2 separate regions of the Homo sapiens genome follow, and region 1 is linked to region 2. The links are contacts of gene promoters, found by promoter capture Hi-C in human tissues and cell types (Jung and others, 2019). All regions are on one chromosome and are shown on one strand. Each heading gives the region's core, a stretch centred on a gene start or on the middle of the fragment in contact. The rest is flanking DNA. Distances are from core to core; before and after follow the strand shown.

Region 1 (5,692 bases), core at 81-2,580, 58 kb before region 2:
CCGCCTCCTGGGTATAAGCGATTCTCCTGCCTAAGCCTCCCGAGTAGCTGGGATTACAGGCATGTGCCACCATGCCTGGCTAATTTTGTATTTTTAGTAGAGACAGGGTTTCTCCATGCTGGTCAGGCTGGTCTTGAACTCCTGACCTCAGGTGATCCACCCGCCTCGGCCTCCCAAAGTGCTGGGATTACAGGCGTGAGCCACCATGCCCAGCCTCAAGTGGAAATATTTTCTAACTTCTCTTCTAATTTCTATTTTTTTTTTTTAGAGATAGAGTCCCGCTCTGTCACCCAGGCTGGAGGGCAGTGGTGCCTTCTCAGCTCACTACAACCTCCGCCTCCTGGGTTCAAGCAATTCTCTTGCCTCAGTCTCCTGAGTACTGGGATTACAGGCGCACACCACCACATCCAGCTAATTTTTTTTTTTTCCTGTATTTTTAGTAGAGACGGAGTTTTGCCGTGTTGGCCAGGCTGGTCTCAAATTCCTGACCTCAGGTGATCTGCCTGCCTCAGCCTCCCAAAGTGCTGGAATTACAGGTGTGAGCCACTGCGCCCAGCCTAGAAGTGCCTTGTTTAATTTCCAAATATTTCAGAGATTTTATAGATACATTTTTCTCATTTAATTGTATTACATTATCATCAGAAGATATACTTCTTTTAAATTTATTTAGACTTACTTCATAACCTACCCTATGGTCTCCCTTGATGAATATTCCGTATGTACTTGGAAAGAATATGTATTCTGCCACTGTTAGGTGTAGTGCTTATCTATGCCAACTGGGTTATGTTGGTAGATAGTGTTTTTTTTTCAAATCTATATCCTTACTGGTTATCTATTTATTTTATAAATTATTAAAATCTCTAACTATAATTGTGGCTTTGTCTATTTCAGTTCTGTCAGTTTTTCATGTATTTTGAATATGTTATTAAATGCATACACATTTAGAATAGCTACACACACACACATATATCATTATGAAGTGACCCTTTTTTCATTATGAAATGTCCCTCTATTGTTGATGATAGTTATGTCCTAAAGTTCACTTTCATATAGCTATATAGCTTTTTTTTTTCTTTTGAGATGGAGTTTCACTTTGTCACCCAGGCTGGAGTGCAGTGGCACGATCTCGGCTCACTGCAACCTCCACCTCCCAGGTTCGAGTGATTCTCATGCCTCAGGCTCCCGAGCAGCTAGGACTACAGGCACCTGCCACCATGCCCAGCTAATTTTTGTATTTTTAGTAGAGATGAGGTTTCACCATATTGGCCAGGCTGGTCTCTAACTCTTGACCTCAAGTGATCCACCCACCTCGGCCTCCCAAAGTACTGGGATTACAGGCATGAGCCACTACACCCGGCCAGCTTTCTCTTGATTAATATTTGCATGGTGTATTTTGATTCATTTATTTTAAAACTCCGTCTTTACATTAGTTTCTTCTTCTCTTCTCTTCTTCTTTCTTTCTCTTCTCTTCTCTCTCTCTCTCTCTGTCTCTCTTTCTCTCTTTCCAGTGGTACAATCACAGCTCACTGCAGCCTCAACCTCCTGTGCTCAAGCAATCTTCCCACCTCAGCCTCCACCGTAGCTAGGACTACAGGCACATGCCACCATGCCTGGCTAGTTTTTTGGATTTTTTTTTTTTTTTTTTTTTTGTAGAGATAGGGTCTCACTCTGTTGCCCAGGCTGGTCTTGAACTCTTGGGCTCAAGTGTTCCCTTCCTCCTCGGCTTCCCAAAGTGCTAAGATTACTCAGCCTCTGTTTTTGTATTTAGAGTGTGTTTCTTTTAGAAGACATGTATGTGTCTTGTTTTTTTTTCCTATCTGATAATCTCTGCTTTTAATTGATGCATTTAGTCCATTTATATTTAATGCAATTGTTGAATTTATAGCAACCATTTTGCTTTTTGTCTCAGCTCTTCTTTGTTCACTTTTTTCTGTTTCCTATTTTCTTTTTTTTTTTTTCTTTTTTCGAGACAGAGTCTCACTCTGTCACCAGGCTGGACTGCAGTAGCACGATTTCAGCTCACCGCAACCTCCACCTCCTGGGTTCAAGCGATTCTCCTGCCTCAGCCTCCCAAGTAGCTGGGACTACAGGTGCACACCACCAGGCCCAGCTAATTTTTGCTTTTTTAGTAGAGACAGGGTGTCACCATGTTGGCCAGGATGGTCTCGATCTCTTGACCTCGTGATCCGCCTGCCTCAGCCCCCCAAAGTGCTGGGATTACAGGCGTGAGCCACCATGCCTGGCCTCTTTTGGATTTTTTTTATTTAATGTCCCTCATTGGTTTATAACTTATTTATTTTATTTTATTTTATTTTTTATTATTTATTTATTTATTTTGGCAATACATACGGTCTTGCTCTGTCATCCAGGCTGGAGTGCAGTGGCACCATCTAGGCTCACTGCAACCTCCGCCTCCCAGGCTAAAGAAGTGATCCTCCCACCTCAGCCTTCTGAGTAGTTGGGACTACAGGCATTCACCACCATGCCTGGCTAGTTTTTGTATTTTTTCTAGAAATAGAGTTTTGCGATGTTGCCCATACTGTTCTGAAACTCCTGGACTCAAGCAAATCTGCCACCTCAACCCCCGAAACTGTTGTGATTACAGGCATGAGCCATTGCACCCGGCCAGTTTATACATCTTTAGTCTATTTTTATGGTGATTGCTCTAGGGTTTACAATATGCATCCTTATCTTATCACAGTCTACCTTCAAATAAAATTGTACTGCTGCATATATCATATTAGACCTTTATAACAATCTGATTTCCCTACTCTGCCTTTGTCATACCTTTTACTTATACATATGTTATTGAACCCAGCTCCATTGGTATTATTTTTTAATACTTGTATCCTCACTATATGTTAATTCCTTAACATATTCACAATATAATTCTCTTAAAGTTCTTGGCTGCTAATTTCATTGTTTATATCATTTCTGGGCCCATTTCTATTCATTGGTTTTCTTCTGGTTAAGGATCACATTTTCATGTTTTCTTTCATGTCTAGTAATGTTTTTATTGGATTTTCACATTGTGAATGTTATGTTTTTCCTTTTCTTTTTTTGAGATGGAGTCTCACTCTGTCGCCCAGGCTAAAGTGCAGTGGCACGATCTTGGCTCACTGCTACTTCCGCCTCCAGGGTTCAAGCAATTCTCCTGCCTCAGCCTCCTAAGTAGCTGGGATTATAGGCATGCACCACCATGCCCAGTTAATTTTTGCATTTTTAGTAGAGACAGGGTTTCACCATGTTGACCAGGCTGGTCTTGAACTCTTGATCTTAAGTGGTCCACCCGCCTCGGCCTCCCAAAGTGCTGGGATTACAGACATGAGCCACCATGCTCGGCCTTTTATGTTTAAAAACTGTAACATTTTATTCTTTTTTTGTTGTTGTTGAGATGGAGTCTCACTCTGTTGCCCAGGCTGGAGGGCAGTGGCATGATCTCAGCTCACTGCAACCTCCGTCTTCCAGGTTCAATCAATTATCCTGCCTCAGCCTCCTGAGTAGCTGGGGTTACAGGCATGCACCACCACACCCAGCTAATTTTATTTATTTATTTATTTATTTATAGTAGAGGCGGGGTTTCACCACTTTGGCCAGGCTGGTCTCGAACTCCTGATCTCAAATGATCCATCTGCCTTGACCTCCCAAAGCACTGGGATTACAGGTGTGAGCCACCATGCCCGGCCTTGTTGTACTTGATTCTTGCAGGCAGTCAACTTGGTTGGGAATCAGCTTAGTCTTTTTTTTTTTTTTTTTTTTTTTTTGTGTGTGAGACAGTATCTAGCTCTCTCACCCAGGCTAGAGTACAGTGTTGTGGTCATAGCCTCAGTCTCCTGGGCTCAAGCAGTCTCCCAAGTAGCTGCAACCATAGGCATATGCCACCACACCTGGCTAATTTTTTAAATTTTTTGTAGAGATGAGAGTCTCACCATGTTGCTCAGGGTGGTCTTGAACCCCTGGGCTCAAGTGATCATCCTGCCCCAGCCTCCCAAAATGTTGGGATTATAGACATGACCAACCATGCCCAGCCTAGCTTAGTCTTTTTGAGGCTTATTTTTAAGCTTTGTTTGGGAGGGCCTAAAGTACCCTCTATTTTATGACCACTCTGGCCTTACCCCTAGGGGGTGGCCTTTTCTGGGCCCTACTGAGTGTCTCTCAACTTTCTGTAAGTTCCAATTATTATTCAGTTTGCAGTTCCCTGGTAGTTTTTCTTTCCCTGATAATTGTTTTATGTGCCCAACGTACGGAGTCTCACCTTACGCATATGCAGTCTGGTATTTGGCTAGAGACTCAAAATGACACCTATGAATACTTATGCAATCCCTTCTCTGGATCCTTTTATTTTTTTTTTTTTAAGATGGAGTCTCGCTCTGTCACCCAGACTGGAGTGCAGTGGCACTATCTCGGCTCACTCCCGAGTAGCTGGGATTACAGGCAGCTGACACCATGCCTGGCTAATGTTTTTATGTGTTTGTTTGTTTGGTTTTGAGACAGAGTCTCGCTCTGTTGCCCAGGCTGGAGTGCAGTGGCCTGATCTCGGCTCACTGCAACCTCCGCCTCCCGGGTTCAAGTGATTCTCCTGCCTCAGCCTCCCGAGTAGCTGGGTGGCACGCACCACCACACCTGGCTAATTTGTTTTGTTTTGTTTTGTTTTTGTATTTTTAGTAGAGACGGGGTTTTGCCATATGGGCCAGACTGGTCTCAAACTCCTGACCTCAGGTGATCTGCCCTCCTCGGCCTCCCAAACTGCTAGGATTACAGGCATGAGCCACCACACCTGGCCTGCATACTCTTTCTCTCTGATAACTTGCCTTATAAATTATTGTTGTCTTGACCTCCCCAAAGTCTGATCTGTGTCTCCTCATTTCAGCGAGGCTATCATACTCTGTTAGTAATCCCTTTTCTTGTACTGTAGTCCAGAAAGCCAGGGAAGCTGGAGGGCTCACTGAATTTGTTTTCCTTCTCTCAGTAATCAAAATTCTGCATGCCTGTTGTCCGATGTCTGAAGATAGTTGTTTCATATATTTTGTCTAGTTTTCTAATTTGTTTTTATTGCTGGAAGGCTAATGAACTACCAGTCATGCTATCATGATCACAGCAGAGTCAGACTGAAGTTTTATTAAATTTTTTTGAGCCTTTATCTCTATTAGATACAATGTTAAAAGCTTTATTTGCATTGTTTTATCTAAACTTCATATAAACCCCACAAATTTGCAGTACTTTTTTTCTTATTATAGACACATAAACTGAGAGTTATGAAGGTTAAGAAACTTGCCCCAAGTCACAGAGCTGGTAAGTCATGAGCCAGGAGCCAGACCTATCTGATTCTTCCCCTTCGTTAAAAAGATTACCTTCCCATTTAATATTCAACGATTATTTTTGCTGATTATAAAAGTAATGCATGATTATTAAATAAATCTTTGAAAATATAAAGATTTATAAAAAGAAAATCTAAAATTCCCATAGTTGCACTACCCAGGGATAGACCTGCTAACATATCTTTCTATTCAAGTTATATATACATATATATGTCTCATATATACACATATGTGAAGGCTAATACTGAGCGTCAACTTGATTGGAATGAAGGGTGCAAAATATTGATCTTGGGTGTGTCCATGAGGGTACTGCTAAAGGAGATTAACATTTGTGTCAGTGGGCTGGGAAAGGCAGACCCACCCTTAACCTGGAT
Region 2 (6,193 bases), core at 2,945-5,444:
TTGCTTTGATTTGACAAAGTTTCATCTCTTATATAGGTCTTTTGGGAAAAAAGCTCTTAGATTTATTTATTATGCTTATTTTTCTAGTAGAAGAGATGTATTTATTTCAGCAAAATTATAAAGTAAAAAATCAAAGAAACAATAATATTTGGCACTCGCTGAGACATAATTTTGTAAAGAAGAAAACAGTAATCAGCATAAGTATAATAAATTATAAAGATCTATTGATCTTTTAATGGGGGCAAATAACCAGAAGAAACACAAAAAGACTTAAAATACAGCATCATTGTCACATCTCATGAAAACATTCCCATAAAAAATTAACAATTTCCACTTGAACATGTATTTCAGCCCTCTTTGAACTTATTCTGAAATCTTGATGCTCTACTGACGTTTATAGACTAGCCATTTTCTCACTCCATGAACTCACAAGTTATCGGTCTCTTCAAAAGCAATTAAAAAGGAGCACTTCATGTTAGATATAGAGTACTTAAAGGCTAATATTTAATCTTAATTGGCAACAAGTTTAGTGCAAATACAATTATATTTAGCGGCTTAGATAGTCCTGGTAAGGATGCATTCTCTTAACCCTTACTGTTTCCCCAGAGTGAAATCATTTCTCTCTTTTTATGAGTACAAACGTTGGCCATTCAAACCTCTGAAAACTAGTAACGATAATTCTGTTTGTTACACAGGGAGTTTCCATGAAAGATGGTTTCAGTCACTATGTAAATGAGCCACATGGTTTTTACATTTGGAAAGTTCCCTTCGGGTTGATACAAAAAAGCAGGGCCTGAATGACAGTCATTCCTCTTAGGAATGGAGTCCAAGTCATAACTGGATCTTACCCAGCTGCTTCTCTGATCAGTGAGAAGACCCAAAGGAGGCATTAATCATTTTACCCATTAACCACCATGCATGGAATTCAAAAGAAGACTTGAGAACAGGGCTGAGGAATCTCTTAAATCGAACTGTGCTCTCCAGTAATAATTTTATTTCACTGATTTAAATGCCAAAAAAAGAAAAATAAAGCCATCTGATTTCAAACCTGGTGCTTCCCACTGTCAGCCAAGATTTATTCTTCAAATGAACAGAAGCCAGAGAGCTACTAGCCAGAGAGGATTTTAATTGTGCTTCATCAATTCCTCGAATTGCTTCTCTTTTTGTTAGACATCTGTTCCCTCTCTAGCCAAGGCCTGGGACTCCTGCTTCAGGAAACAATATGGCTTACTGTGCCCAGCTCCATGGTGGCAAGGGAAGAGGAAGAATGCCTCCTAGATATCAAGCACCTGGCCCCGCCTCTTGTCTAGGTTTCTCCAGTCAAGGAGTTCAGCTTTCAAAAAGCTTGGATGACCCTCTTGAGGTCCAGGATGTAGTGACATAAGATCCAGGGAGGTCAACACCATCTCACTCGACCATCCTCTTTACCAACTCTCAGCAGCTTTTCTATTCCCCCTGAATTCTCTCACTGAGCAGGATGAGGGAGTGCTGCCTGCATGTTGGACAGAGAGACCCACCTCAGTCACTATACTCTTCTCTTTCCCTTGGACTGTGGAATTTCTCATACTGGTTGGCCAGTTTCCACTTGTTGTGCTGACTTTTGAGTAGTGCAGCGAAGGAAGTTTTTCGGGTGACACTTCTAGATATTTCCTTGCTCTTGGCCTTTCTGGTAGGGGAAGAACTTCCAACTAAGGGATAGACAGGGAAAATGGGCTTGCCCCGAGGAGCTCCCAACAGCTGCCATATTTCCCCAGAGGTATTACTGGTTAGATACTGCCATGGCTTCTTCCCACTGCTGTCCCTGACATTTACCCGAGAAGCCAACCTTTGCACTAGCAATTTGATGACCCCCTGGTGGCCGTGAATGGCTGCAAGGTGCAGCGGGGTATATCCACAACTGGACCTCACGTTTACATCAAGGACAATCCCTGCCTTCTTTGCTCCAGACACCAAGTCCTGAAGGGCCCTGAGGTCACCATGTTTGGCTATCCAGTGCAACGCAGTGTACCCAGTCAAAAAGTCTTTGTGCAAGGCCAGTTGAGGGTCCTCCCAGAACAAAGTCCACACCTGAATCCAGGAGCCACTGGCAAGCTTCACAATCCACTCATGCTCCCTGGCATCTAGTGGAACCAGGGATGATTTGTGCTCAGAAGTTCTGTGGGGGGCCAAGGCTGCAGACCCCTCCCCACTGGGGACCCACAGGCTGTGTCGCCAACCCCGCTCGGCCACAACAGCCTTAACCTCTGCAAGTTTTAGTGATAAACCTGCATCAACCCTTGGGCTGGGTGCCGTTCCTGCCTTGGAGGGCTTCCTGGATCGAGGTGGGCGCCGACTTCTTTTCAGCAAGCCCTCATCGAGGTACTCCTCATCAGAGGAGGACAATTTGGCTCTCCCTGCCAGAGAGCTCCTCCTGAGGGACCTCCTTAACTTAGGAACTGGCCAAGGCAAAGGCTTCAGGGGGTGGCCTGCAAGGCCATTAGCCCCTGCAGGGACCTGCTGAGAGATGTGACCATCCCCTCTGTTTCTGAGACCCTGAGGGCTCCGGCTGGGGCTGCCCTCCTTCCGAGATACAGAAAGGCCCCCAGCTGGATTCCTGAGCTTCCCCCTATCTGGGGTTCCCAAGACAACCTGCAGCCCCTCTTCAGAAGCCCCCGGGGAGTCTTTGGGCCCACTGCTGCTCTCCTCACTGCCATCACTCTCCTGGTCCACAAAGTCATCCAGATCTTGGAGGGACAGCTGACAACGAATGCTGCGAAAGACAGTCAATGAAGGGTTCCCCGCCCAGGATTCCCAGGACTCATCCGGAACAACAGGAAAGAGAGAGTGCGAGGAAAGACAGGGGTCTGGCGGCTCTGAATTAGGCTCCGTGGAGCCGGGTTCCAAGGGCAGCTGGAGGAAGTTGTCTGGCAGCACCGACCAGGCGCGGATAGGGCCCTGATCACGGGCCTCGGGCACCTGCGGGTGCCTGGCCACCCACTCTCGAGTGCGCTGCTGCTGCTGCTGCAGGGTCGAATAATGCAGGGAGCTGGGGGTCAGCAGCTCCGGCCGGTCTCCGCGGGGAGCGGGGCCGGGCAGGAGAGCAGGCGGGGAAGCCCTGCTTGTCGCAGCCTCGACGGTGGCGGGAGGCGAGTGAGCCACTGCAGGCACAGGCGCCGGCTCAGCTAGCGCGCCTTCTTCCCGCTCCCTGGAAGCCCCGCGGTCATCCTGGGCAGGCAGAGCCCGTGCCGGCTTCTCCTCCGCGGTGGCCGAGTGCGGGAGTGCGCCGAGCTCTCCCGGCAGTACAGCCAGGTTGTTCTGGAGGCATTCCCAGCAGCAGCGGCCCTGCGTCTTCGCCGCCGCGCAGCTCGCTCTCGCCTGGGCCCCTGCCGCTGCAGCTGCGGGCACCGGCGGCCTCTGTCCGGGACTGCCCTTCGATCCGCCGCCCTTCCCGGGCGCCCTACGGGAGTCGCTGCCCGGGAGTCCATTGCAAGCTGCGTCGGCGGCTCTGGCTGCTGCACCTGCTGGCTCCTCCTCCGGCTCCTTCTCGCGCCGCCGCCGCCTGGGCTGCTGCTGGGGCGGCTCCCCCCGGCGCGCGCCTCGCGGGGAGCAGGGCGCAGCTCCCCCTGCACTGGGGGCGGCCGCGGGCGGCTCGCGGGGTCGCTGCAGCCCCTCCTCCCCCAAAAGGTCCCTGTATCTCCTCTTGAGCACCACGTACTTGGTGCCGTCGGGGTCCTGGCGCACTGCGGCGACCGAGTTGACGAAGCCCTTGAAGAGCTCGCGGCGGTGCTGGTGCTGGCTGGGGGACGCGTCGGGGTCTCGGAGAAAGCTCTTGAAGTGGCTCAGCAAGGCAGCGTTGGTCACGCGGCCCCCAGCCTGGCACAGAAAGTCCAGTAGTGCCTCCTGGCTCAGCTCTCGGGCCATCGCTGCCTTGTCCTCCGCCCCAGAGGTGTCTGAGTCTCGCCCTCCCGGGGCTCTCCCCAGCCAGAGGAAACCCTGGCCGGGCGAGTGTCACCTGCGCCCGGGGCGGCACTAGCCGCCCCCATCAGCCGCGGAGGCCAGCGCTGCCCGCAGCCCGTGAGCGCGCCAGGAGGGCCGTGGGTCCCCTCCGGGTGGCCCCAAGGCTGAGTCCCCGCGGCAGTCTGCGTGAGAGAGGGCGGCTCCGAGGCCGCCCCTGCGCGACTCTAGCCTCTCGCAACGAGTCCTCACAGCGAAAGTTCCCGGGATAGGGCCGAGTCGGTTTCACCTGCGCCCTGGCGGCACCTCCTCCCTGCCTCTGGGGGAAGGGTCAGGCCCGCCTCCTCGTGTCCCTCCGCCCCCTGAGGTCTCCCCCACCCCCTGCCACCCATCCCAGAAGAGTCAGGCCGGAGAGCCAGCCGGTAGGTGAGGTTGGCGGCGAACCGAGCCGGCAGCGAACTGCTCTGCGGCCGGGGAAGTGGAAGGCAGGTAGGCGACCGGCCGTTCCTCTAAGTCTCCGCCACGCAGGAAACAAAAGCGATAGAAGGTCCGTTCCTGTCCTCCGGTGCTTTGATGAGTTCAGGCTGAAGCCGATGGGGGAGGAGGAGAAGCTGCAAGTTAACAGGCAATCTGAGTTATCTTTCTTTATTAACGCTGTAGAGGAGTACTTCAGATTTCTCGAGGCTGTATTGAGGTCCGCAAAACTCACTTTGCATCCAAACTAAATTTTTCTTAATATAGAAATACTTTCTGGGCCGCTTCTCCGGCGCCCCCTCCAAGGGGTCCGAATACATCCAAGTCTATACTGAAAAGAGAAATCACTCTGAAAATTACTACTGGGCAATATTGGTTTGGGACTTTTTCTTTCATACTTGTCTTTCCTTCATACTTGTCTCACATTAAGGTGCTGGAAAAAAAAAATCACTTTGATAGCTTCTTGCCCCCGGCGGCTAAAATGAACTAGGAATTATGTCTCGCCAGTTAAGGTATTTGATGTGTAGCATTAGTTTGCTTTTATTTACTCTAAAATTTGTGAACAGCAGAGATTTGTACAGTGTTTTGTATTGGCTTGGTGAAGTGCTTCCTTTCAGAATGTAAGGTTCAAAATGCAGACTAGAGCTGTCTTTAACAGCACCTTTTCCCCCTAACAGCTGGGATCCCTCTTCCTTTTTCTCTCTCCACATGTTGACCCTTCTGTCTTTGATGTGAGATCCTGGATGTCCCTCACTGTTCCTTATCAGTCCTGTTGACATGCCTGAGATAGTTTTCACTGTCATTATCTCTTTACCTGTTTTAGTTCCAAGCCTTCTCTCATTCTTTTCTTTAACTTGGCCTTCCCATTTCTTTCTGTTACACGACATCCTTGTTTACCTTCGGCCTCTACTGACAGGAAATATGTCTGTTTCTCAGATCCTCTCATGTCCACTGTATTTCCCATTCAAAAACCTCGATTTTCTCCTTCCCTGTAATTTGCCTCTCTTTTCTCATGGACTCTTCTCATCTTTTCACTTTTCCTTTTGCTCTTCTATTTCTGATTACTCATAGTTCCTATACTTCTCGCCAAGAAAGAGTATTGAAAGTATGTGTGTTGGCCCTACAATTGTTGACAAAGACATGTTTTAGCATGGACCAATCTTAGTGACTGCCCTATAGACCACATTAACTGAGCTTGATTTTAAATCCCCAAAAATACCCTAGCACTTTTCCAGGAATGAATCTTTGGTTTTACATTATCTAGGTCAGAAAAAAAGAACTGGAAACATTTTTGTCTATTTTTGGCATTTTCTAGGATCCAAACCCAATACTGGGTTGAGAGAGGGATAGTGGTTTTCACTGATGTCTCTACATAACATCAAGCCTTTAGGATAGTTTTTAAAATTAAGGTTTTGTATTAAATTTCAGCTTTCTTTTGAGTTTATTTGCTGGTATAGAGTCTTGTTGGGACTGAGTAAGGTGAGTCCATACCTAAGGCAGGAGGAACACCAAATGAAAGACTCAAGTGGGCATTTTAGAATGGCAAGTGGAAAGAATCCCTCTTTGCTACTTTTTAAAACATCTGGTTACAAAATAAGGGGCTAACTGCAAAAGAGAGCCATAATATGGACTGAGGTTTCGACTCAAAGGAAATAAAAAGACTAGAGTGAAAGAAAGTGGAGGGCCAGGTGAGGGGAGATTATAAAGCATCTGTTTGTTGAAATCAGATCATTTTTAGTTGAGGGTGGAATTAATAGGATTGGAGCCAAAAAGAAGAAAAAAAAAT

The links. The method cuts DNA at HindIII sites, captures the fragments that hold promoters and counts their contacts. A contact is called where the count stands out against the background at its distance.
Region 1: a contact is called between a fragment that was not itself captured here and the fragment with the promoter of SOWAHB in region 2, in 2 of the 25 tissues and cell types used here (IMR-90 fibroblasts and mesendoderm cells).

What each region holds. Positions count from the first base shown.
Region 1 is chr4:76,838,593-76,844,284 of GRCh38, forward strand. It overlaps LOC124900866 (putative uncharacterized protein encoded by LINC00596), which reads left to right and starts at 3,066. Exons shown (of 3, transcript XM_047416557.1): 1 at 3,066-3,209. The coding sequence starts at 3,066. The HindIII fragment of the contact is 6,566 bases long and covers 1-4,613 here.
Region 2 is chr4:76,893,950-76,900,142 of GRCh38, forward strand. SOWAHB (sosondowah ankyrin repeat domain family member B) reads right to left here and starts at 4,195. Exons shown (of 1, transcript NM_001029870.3): 1 at 203-4,195. The coding sequence starts at 3,900. The coding sequence ends at 1,519. RefSeq lists silencers at 3,546-3,655, 3,916-4,215, 4,286-4,355. The HindIII fragment of the contact is 8,540 bases long and covers 1,718-6,193 here.